Regions from separate parts of the Homo sapiens genome. Here region 1 is linked to region 2. The links are contacts of gene promoters, found by promoter capture Hi-C in blood cells and fetal thymus (Javierre and others, 2016). All regions are on one chromosome and are shown on one strand. The core of a region is centred on a gene start or on the middle of the fragment in contact, and the rest is flanking DNA. Distances in the headings are between cores, read along the strand shown. Region 1 overlaps THEMIS (thymocyte selection associated). Region 2 holds the start of PTPRK-AS1 (PTPRK antisense RNA 1).

Region 1 (5,257 bases), core at 1,366-3,865, 140 kb after region 2:
ATATGAAGAAAAATAGTAAAAAGTAAAACATTAACAATAAAACCATTTAAAGAAACCACATAAAAATGTGAAACTGAAACTTTACAAAGTGAAAAAATTAAATTTATAAAATAAAAAGCTTCCTTATTCCAAAAAAACCCAAACTACATAAATGTGGAAGAAAGACTAACTCTACACAAGGGGAATATTTACATAATATAGAGCAAACAGACTATAAATATCCTGAATGTATAAGGAATTACTAAATAACAATAAACAAAAGTGAATATAAAGATGTAAAAGGCAGTTCACATACCATACTAATATTAAAAAATTCAAATCTACTATCAACAATGCTAATGAAACAATAAATCATTATTTCTCTTTCAGGTCACTGGTATTAAAAGATTCACAAAAGTTATTGTAGGCATGAATGTGTGGAAAGGAGCCGAGGCACACTTGGTAATGTGTAAACGGTTACAGACTTTCGAGGTTGCAACTGGGTAATATTTATCTACAGAGAAAAATGTTTATAAACATCCAATCACTAGAAATTAATTTTAAAATACAATTACAAAAAGCAAAATAATGATTATATTAGAATGCTCATAGAAGCATGTTTTATAGAAAAATGTTAAGCGAGCCTAGAATGGAATAGCTTACATACATCCTAATAATGCATTATCAGGCATTGTCAAAGGGTCTAGAATTACAGTTGGGAAAAAAAGTAAAGCCCTCCCCTCTCGGAGCTTATATTCTAGTAAATGGGACAAATGACAAACCTAGATTTAGAATATATACAAGTGTCATGAAGCACTGACTGGAGAGTAAAGCAAGGTGAGGTGAAAGGTGATCTTTTGATAGGGTGACCGGGGCAGATTATCTCTGATGAAATTTGAGCAGGGACCTGAATAAACTGAGGAAATAAGCCTTGCCCACATCTGGAAGAACATCCCTGCTGAGGACAGAACAAGTGCAAACTACTGAAGAGCTTGCTTGGTCTGGATAAGAAACAGGGAGCAGCCCAGTGGTGCTGAAGGCAAGGAATTGGGGGAAGGATGGTGGGAGAAAGACTGAGGCGTGGGCAGGCCCAGACCTTGTAGGCCTTGAAGGCCAGAGTGACACTGAATGTGGTACAGAGTGGGGCTGGGAAACCCGTAGGACCTGTAAACTAATGTGGTCAGGGAAGGCCACTCTGAAGAAATGATTTTGGAGCAGAGACTTGAATATTGAGAAGGAATCAGCCAAGGAAAGATCTAGGTTCTGGAGTGTTCCAGAGTGAACAGACAGTGCAGACATCTGGGGACCAAAAGGAGCTTTGTCTGTTTGAGGAAGAGAAAACATATCCCTGTACCTTGAGCACATATAAAGCAGGGAGAAGAACATATGAGAAGAGGTTTAAGGAGTGGGCAAGAGCATTTCAAGGAGTTTGGGTTTTATGAGACGCCAATGACCAGTTTGAGCAGCAGACTGACAAGACCTGATTGCCATTTGAGGAAGATCACTGGCTATTTTGGGGAGAACAGGCATTAGTGAGGCAAAAGTGGAATGATATATTAGGAGACTGCAATAATCTAGAGGAGAGTTGATGGTGCCTTGATTTAGTGTGAAGAGAAAGGAACAGTTCAAGAGATGCTTTGGAGGTAGAAATGTCAGGACTTTCTTTTTCTTTGTTTCTTTCTTTTTTTTTTTTTTTTTTGTTGAGCTGGAGTCTCTTTCTGTCACCCAGACTGGAATGTAGTGGCGCAATCTCAGCTCACTGCAACCTCCACCTCCCGGATTCAAGCGATTTTCCTGTCTCAGTCTCACGAGTAGCTGGGACTACAGGTGCCCGCCACCAGGCCTGGTTAATTATTTTTTCGCATTTTTAGTAGGGACAGGATTTCACCATATTGATCAGGCTGGTCTTGAACTCCTGACCTCAGGTGATCCATCTGCCTTGGCCTCCCAAACTGCTGGGATTACAGGTGTGAGCCACCGCGCCTGGCCGAAATGTAAGGACTTTCTAATGGATTTGAAATTGAGGTGAGAAAATGAAAAGACTAAAGGATGAATTCAAGATTTTGGCCTAAACCACTGGGTAAATGTTTGTGTATTTGACAGAGTCATGAAGACCAGGGGAAGATGAGATTTTAGTGAGAAAAACAAAAGTTTTGTTTTGGACATATTAAATATAAATATCTATTACTCAGCCAAGTGGATATTTCAAGTTAGGCAATTAAAAATCCAACTTGGGCACAGAGGATGCTTGTGGTTGGAATGCCCTATCCATTACCTAATTGATCAGGACTTTATTTGATCAAAAACCTCATCAATTTAAAAAAAGAGGATGCCGCTTTCCATACATGTATTTCTCTATTGATATTTATATTCCTTCCAAAGCATACATAATAATAAAATTATAAAAAAGAAAGATAAAATTGATAATATACAATTTTAATTTTTGTTAATAATATACACTATTTTTCTCACAAAAGCTGTTAATTCTATTGTAACAACTAGCTAGTTTTTAAATTAATATATAATAATTGTACATATTTATGGGGTACATGTAATATTTTGATTCATACATACAGCGTGATCAAGTTAGAGTAATTAGGATACTGTTCACCTCAAACATTGATCATTTCTTTGTTTTGGGACTATTCCAAATTTTTTCTTCCAGTTATTTTGAAATAGACAATAAGTTATTATTCACTATGATCACCCTACTGTGCTATTGAACACTAGGCTTTATTCCTTCTAGCTAACTGTATTTCTGTATCCATTAACCAATCTCACTTCACCCCCTTCTCCCCGCTACCCTTTCTAGCCTCTGGTAACCACCATTCTACTCTCTTCCCTCCATGAGATCAATATTTTTAGCTACCACATATGAATGAGAATAAAACATATTAACTATCAATCTATTTTTAGCAGAAGTCATGTTACTGAAAATTATTGAAAATACTACATGTTTTTATTACTGAATACTGTTTTGGAAAATGCTGATTATCATGTGACCCAGTGATTCGAATGGTTCTAATTAATTTATTTTAGTGCTTGTTTTGAATGACAGCTATTGAAGATACCTCATCAAGGTCCAATATACATTGTATGTAATCTACTCATACAGCAGGTTTATCATTAATATTTGTGGCTATCACTCTGTGAAATAATCTTCATAAATTTCATGTTGTGAAATAATCTTCCTAAATCTGATTTTGGCAGTTTCATTAGATAGCAGTTGTACGCAGACAATGACAAGATTGTGCTAATAGAAGACGTGTCACTCTATCATTTTCTTCTTGATAGGGCCTGCAATCTTTAATTCTCAAATGTCTGTGTTGGCATCTTGTGACGTTATGTCTATTTTGTGAGAGTGAGTATAGATAGAATTAGATTATAACAATTCTTAAATCAACTTAACTTCACCTGCATTATGTTGTAGTATATTGAAAGTAAATGAATGAATTAAAACAATTCCTTTAACTCATTTTTTGAAATTCCCAATCTATCTTAGTATGTGACTTACCATACATGTCATATGACTATCCGATGCAGAGATAAATTAGGATTTTTAATATTAAATACTAGCAACCTTGAAATTAACTAATATAACTCTTTCTGTTAAATATTAGTATAGTTTAGTTTTCTTATTTGTTTTATGTGGAAATGAATACGAAGTTCTACTATTTTCCACTTTAACCTCATATCTTGTAATACTCTTTGGAATATGTGGCCCAATTTAGAGATCCCTGCAAGGAGCTAACACAATTGATGTTATGAGTCCCTCTCAGATTAAAGCTGTGGATAATTATGTATGACATATGCCATAGATAAATTGACTTGTGCTATCTTGTCCTCTTCAGTTCTTTAAGTGAGCAGTTTATAACCAAAGAACAAATCTGAGGAAAAAAATGGTGTTCATCTATTCCACTTTTCCACCTCTTTTGAGTACATGGTATGCTTGTACTTCCCAACCCTTTTGTGGTCACATGATCACATGACTTGTATTGGCAAATGTACTGAGAACAAAAATAATATGTATAATTTGGAACAGATACTTTAAGAACCAGTTCATAATTAAACATATTTCATCATGGTAGACTATGTCAAAATGAAATCTTCAATAGCCTATGTTGCTAAGTGACTATAATTAGCAGAGAACATGTCCTCATCCACCTGTACCTGACATGTAGTGAAATAAGAAATATACTTTATTGTTTAATCTCTGAGATTTTGAAGTTGTTATCTTAATATAAGCTACACTTCTCTCACTGATACAATAAATTATTTTTATTATGACTGGAACTGAAGTTATTATCAACTTCAAAAAATTCAAAACCAGGCATATTCTAAAGAGAGTCATATAATGTCAGGGAAGTTACTTGGGTAATAATGCTACCACATGTTCATAAGAAAGTGATTTTATCACTCTATTCAGGAAGCATCTGTTGCTTCTTTAACTACTCTTCATATTGCTAACATTACCATTTACCCCTGTTGACTTTGTATATGTAGCCATTTTGGTGTTGATTTAAAAATTTGGCAAAAAACAAAATTGGTTTGCATTATGATCTCTTTTGAAGAGCTGGATATTAATTTTTTTTTGCTTTAGAAAAACACATGTGCATGGTTGGTAATTTTATAAATGCAGAAATGCATAATTACCCATAATGCCACCAAACAGAGAGAAATATGGTTAACATTTTGATGTATTCTGTTATAATTTTTATAAAAATATGAATTAACTTTCAAGAAAAGAAAATTGATGCCCAAATTCCTTTTCCCCATGCTTTATAGGGAACCCCATAATTTCCCACAACTTCCATTTATCCCCTTAGTTCAAGCCATCATAATTTACTGCTAAGATTATCAAAATCTCCTAAATGCTCTTCCTTCTTTCATTTCTAAAATCTATTCTCAACATAGCATCTAGAATCATGGATGTCAGATTATGTCACTCCTCTGTTAAAAACCCTCCATTTTTTCTCAAAATAAAAATCTTATATGGGTAATAAGTCCCCACATTGTCTCCATGTTGCATTATTTATCTGAGTTTATTGCTTATTAATCTGCTTCTCCTCCTAGCCATACTAGCCACTTCACTGTTCCTCAAATTTGGGGATATTCTCCTGCCTTAAAGCTTTGTTCACACTTTTCATCTGGAAAACTCTTCTTCAGGACATCGACTTGACTAACTCCCTTCTCTACGAGGTTTACCCCAGCTGCCTCTTTATTCTTGCAATTTTTCTACTCCCCTTTCCCTGGATTCCCTGTCTTCCATATTCCGGTC
Region 2 (5,487 bases), core at 2,373-4,872:
GAATGATTCATTTCACATTTCCCAGTCTTATGTAAATTACTCTGCAGCATTTATATAGCATTAGTGTCATGCAATTTGTATCATTATTGAACATTTATTTTCTTTTCAAACAAAGTGCAAAGTGCCAGAGGATGGGAAGTATATCTTTAGCTGCAGTTTGAAAGAAAATGTACCAAGCTTGGTGTCGGATGACCTGGGTTCTACAAAGCAGTCGTGTACGTTTAGCCAAATCACCTGTTCAAATCTAGGTTGCCCAAACTATAAATGCACTTGAATGAGTGATTTTTCAAGAATGTGGGGCAAAATGAAGTCAGAGCATTCAAGGCTGTGGTATCTTATTTCTGTTTCAGCTACTGTGTCTGTGCTCTCAGTGTTTCATATATTGGGTCCCTACGTATGATTTTATTTTTTAAATTTCTACTGCTAATAAAAGTTTCACAGATGTGATAGTGTCCAGTATTTCTTTCAAATTTGAAGTTTCATTTGATTTAATCATTTTATCTATCATGTCATTTAGTGTAATTTTTGAACCTAGTAAGTGTCTAATAAATATTTGCTGGGGAAAAAAATGAATGCTATGGTTCAATCATGCAATACTCAGATGTTCGTAACCATTTCCATGTGAAAAGTTTAGTATAGGCTGTAGAGAATGACATTTTAGACTTTTGAGGGGAATTATTTTTATGTCAGCTTGAAATTCTTCTTGAACTTGATTTCTGACTTGGGGGAAAAAAAGCAAGCCTGATGTGCACAAGCTTTATACAGAGAATCAACTGTTTTTAAAAGAATAATCCAGCTGCTATCTGATCAGCCAGGTAGGAGTTGTTCTGTGGAAATGAAGAAGCCCTCCATTTTCAGTCAGAGTCACGCATATAAAGGCTTTGATAAGATTAAAATAATCCAAGAATGCAATTTCAAGATGCACAGCTAGAAACAGCAACTAAGAAATATCCATATCTTACAGGACACAGCTAAGGGAAGAGTCAGGTTTTAAGGACCGTCTACAGATAATGTCAGGATGTACAGATAAATATGAGCAACTGCTGATTGAGCTAGAAACACTGCTGGTTAAGTTATAAATCTTATGATTTTTACCCTTCAAAATGCCTCTTTCCTTGCTGCTTTATATTTTTTTAAAGAGCGGAGTATGTTGTCACTTGGAGGTTGTGCTGCTTTCCTGTGACTTTAGTCACCTTTGGTGCCCTGGCCAGATCCCTTTTACCAAGCCTGTAAAATGCCCAGTTTCCGTCAGTGTTAGCTGCTATTGGCTCACAGCCCCCACTTCTCTTCAGAATCACTTGTAGCTGAAAAACATTTACTTTGCCAAACCTTATGTGCCCATCTCCCAGCACTATCAGCTCATATCTGATGACTAACTGACATGGGGAATACAAAAAGCCAGTGCCCTCACTTCATTAGGTCAACTCTGGGGCAATTCATGCTCTAGTGCTCCCCGTGACATCAGGCTGAAGTTAGACTTATGCTAATACCACATTCTCACTTAGCTGCTTTCCCTTTCCTACCCTACTTTCCTCTCTCCTTTTCATCTGACAACACTCCCTTAATAAATCATGTGCATCCAAATCCTTGTCTTAGGCTCTGCTTCTAGGGAACCTAAGCAGTGATATTTTTGAGAGTATAGATTCTTTCTTCTTTTATCTTTCATCCTCAATCTCCAGCACATCTGGATCATGATGCTTTACAAGTATTTTGAAGAGTAAGCAAAGTAAGAAATTTGGCCTTCATTTGGTGTGTTAGTTAGTCCTTGCATTGCTATAAAGTAATATGTGAGGCTGGATTATTATTATTATTATTATTATTATTATTATTATTATTATTATTATTATTTTGAGATGGAATCTCACTCTGTCACCCAGGCTGGAGTGCATTGGCACTACAACCTCTGCTTCTTAGGTTCAAGTGATTTTTCTGCCTCGCCTCCCCAGTAGCTCGGATTACAGGTGCCCGCCACCCTGTCCAGCTAATTTTTGTATTTTTAGTAGTGATCGGGTTTCACCATGTTAGCCAAGCTGGTCTTGAACTCAAATGATCCACCTGCCTCAGCCTCCCAGAGTGCTGGGATTACAGGTGTGAGCCACTGCATGCAGTCAGAGACTGGGTAGTTTATAAAGAGAAGAGGTTTAAATGGTTCATGGTTCTGCAGGCTGTAGAGGAAGCGTAGTGCTGGCATCTGCTTCTGGTGAGGGCCTCAGGGAGCTTACAATCATGGCAGAAGGTGAAGGGGAACCATGTATCACTTGGCAAGAGAGGGAGACAGGAGAGGGAAGGTCCACACTCTTTAAACAACCAGATCTCACAAGAACACTCATTACTGTGAGGATGGCACCAAGGCATTCGTGAGAGAGCCAACCCCCAAAACCAAAAACCTCCCACCAAGTCCCATCTCCAGCATTGGGGAATACATCTCAGCATGAGATTTGGAGGGCACAAACACCCAAACTGTATCAGTTGATCAAGAACTGACCATGGAAGATGGATAGTTGAAGTCACAAGCAGTCCAGCACAATTCTAACCTTACCATGAATCTGAATTCTTAGCTCACTAAAGATTTAGGAACAGAATTGGGGAGTAGAATTATGGTCATGTAAAAATAGAGTCCGTTTAACATCCTAACCTTAAATCAGAAACCATCAAAGCATCATATCAACAAAAAAATTGTTTTCACTTATGAAAAATATGAATATTAACACAATTTTGTTGCACACTTACTCTCTGCCATATGTCTTACACTAGGCATTGAGAAAATACTAAAAATACATAGGATATGTTCCATGCTCTCAAGAAGTTGTGAATTGTGAAAGAACCTGATAGTTGAAGTAATAATTTCATGCAGTGTGCCTAAACATGAAATAGAATTCCATACAAAGTGACATTTAAATAGGTAGAAAAACCAGAGACCATATCCACACTGGTAACAGCATGGGCAGAGGTTTGCAGTTAGACATGAAAGTTAATGCAGTGTTCAAGAATATACTGAGGAGTTAGTAAGAAATTAGGCTAAAATGTATGTTGATACAGATATGAGAAAGGGCTGTAAGACTCAAGATTCACTTTATCTTGAGGGCAGGGTGGCAGCTATCAACAGTGCTAAAGCACTTTCTCTTCCACTTTAAAAATTAAAACAGTGTGGTAACCTTAAAAGGTGTTCTGAAACAATATTCTAAGCAACTGTTATCACTTTTGCTTTTTCCTTTTTTTTATCAGGTGCTTACTTAAACATTTCTCATAATTGCAAAGATTGTGACTTGTAATTATTTGTAGTTACTATTTTACCATGAGCTTTACCCACATTTTTATGTGTTTTAATTTTAAGTGGCTAAATATTATTATAAATAGTGTGTGCAGTATAATTTATATTCGTCATTTTCATTTTCCCTGAAATCTTTGTAGGCTATTAAGAAGAACAATGATAGGATCATATTTAAGTTTTAGAAAAATGACACCTTAAAAGCTGCAGGTAGATTAGGATGAGTAGGACTTGGAGTCAGAAACTTCAATAAGGGAGTGGCTGCAATATAGACTAGGAAAGAGGTGATACCAACCTGTCAGTGTCCTCATCGGTAAAAGAAGATACAGCTGGGCACAGTGGCTTATGCCTGTAATCCCAGCACTCTGGGAGGCCAAGGTGGGCGGATCACTTGAGGCCAGGAGTACGCACCAACTTGGCCAACAGAGTGAAACCCCGTCTCTACTAAAAACAAAAATTAGTCAGGCACAGTGGCACACGCCTGTAGTCCCAGCTACTCGGGTGGCTGAGGTAGGAGAATTGCTTGAACCCAGGAGAAGGTTGCAGTAACCTGAGATGGCTCCACTGCACTCCAGACTCGGTGACAGAGCAAGACTCTGTCTCAAAGGAAAAAAAAAACATACAACAAGCCTCATAAGTGCTTGTGAAAGCTAATTGAAATAATATATTAAAAGAGTTTGGCATTTAGAAAGCTCTGAAACGATCATTCATTTAACAGAGGAAGCTATGAACATTTTTTTTTTAAAGGTCAGTTTGACTTTTAGGCACCTGATTTCCTGAAGGACTCTTTGAACTCTTTGAATGTGGGTACTGTTTTATGCATTTTCATGTGATAACTAAACAGCCTGATTTACATTCTTGCCCAATATACGTATTTCTTCAAATAATGAACTAATGAATTCCCGGGCAATAAATACCTTTTGGTTAAATGGACAAACAGTTCTGTTCAGTGGGAAACATGCTAGTAGAGTCTGCTTTTAAAGGAATTGCTGTATGCAGTATTCTAAGAAATAATGAGGAAGTATTTTTACTTCAAAATACTTTGATCATAATATGATGATAGGTATTTTCTTCTCTTGCCTGTGAAAGTGTGTGTTAGGTATGTACATTATGGGGCCAAACTAGTGATTGTTGCTAATTAGGATATATGTGGCGCATTCTATCAAGAATCCCAGTTTTCTGGGCACTGTGAGCTGTAAGTCAAGTCATAAAAAGGAGTGAATTGTCTTTTTCATATATAGCACTGAAATTGACTGGAGTTAATTATTTAATGCCTACCTCCCCTACTAGACTACAGGCTGTGTCACACACCTCCCTCAGCATCTAGCACAGCAAATGGATTTAGTAATATTTATTGAATAGATTAAGAAATACAGAGTGAATAAAATAGGACACTGGTTGGAGTGTTGGGTCAACCACAATTTTGGTGTGATATATTCTACATATCACAGTGAGAAGGAAAATGATATAAAATGAATAATATCCTCCTTAAAGTACTATACAAAAAGAATACTTCTTATATTTTTTCAAGATGATGTAATCTTGTCAAATATATAATATGTTGCATGCCAGTGCTTTCTTAATCCTTAATAGTAATACCAGTAATTGTATATTAAGTTCCTGCTATGTGTCAAATACTTCTAGGTACTTTAAATGTATATTCAGTAATCTTCAGAACAAGCCTAGAGAGCAGAATTTAGTTATTTCATTGTAAAGATGAGAAAAGTGGGTCTCAAAAAAAGCAGATAACTTGTCCCAGATCACACAGTAGTTTTTCTTGGTACCTGGAGTGATTTTCATCCCTCTTTCAAATACAACCCTTTGGCTATTGGGAAGTAGCTATTACAACTGTATTTTTTCTTTAACTTGATGTAAGGGAAAGACCACTTTACACATATACAAATAGGAGAAAGTTTTGCCAGACCTTCTGCAGCTAGTATTTACATGAGTGAGTAGAGAATTGTAAGAGGTTCTGGTAGCAGTAAAAACAAATTACAAACAACGGAACATGAAGAGAAGATGTTGTCTACCAACATCTGTCAAATATGGCAGATGATCTTCTTTGTCTTATTTTGTTCAATACCACTCAATATCATCACTTAGGCCTCTCTCTCTTACTGTTTAGATCTCTTGGGATTCTCTTAATTTTTTAAAGCCTATACCTTGAAAAATTCTGTTTAAAAATACATTGGAAAGCATATAGATTTTAGTAGGCTGAA

The links. The method cuts DNA at HindIII sites, captures the fragments that hold promoters and counts their contacts. A CHiCAGO score of 5 or more calls a contact.
Region 1: a contact is called between a fragment that was not itself captured here and the fragment with the promoter of PTPRK-AS1 in region 2, in 2 of 17 cell types (naive CD8 T cells and total CD8 T cells). The highest score is 8.2, in naive CD8 T cells.

The regions. Positions count from the first base shown.
Region 1 is chr6:127,887,960-127,893,216 of GRCh38, reverse strand. All of the region lies in intron 1 of THEMIS (thymocyte selection associated), which reads left to right. Among named protein-coding and RNA genes, the nearest start is that of THEMIS, 10 kb to the left of the region's middle. The HindIII fragment of the contact is 4,989 bases long and covers 121-5,109 here.
Region 2 is chr6:128,026,000-128,031,486 of GRCh38, reverse strand. It overlaps PTPRK-AS1 (PTPRK antisense RNA 1), which reads right to left and starts at 3,622. Exons shown (of 5, transcript NR_125849.1): 1 at 3,564-3,622. The region is part of intron 13 of PTPRK (protein tyrosine phosphatase receptor type K); the gene reads left to right. The HindIII fragment of the contact is 8,791 bases long and covers 758-5,487 here.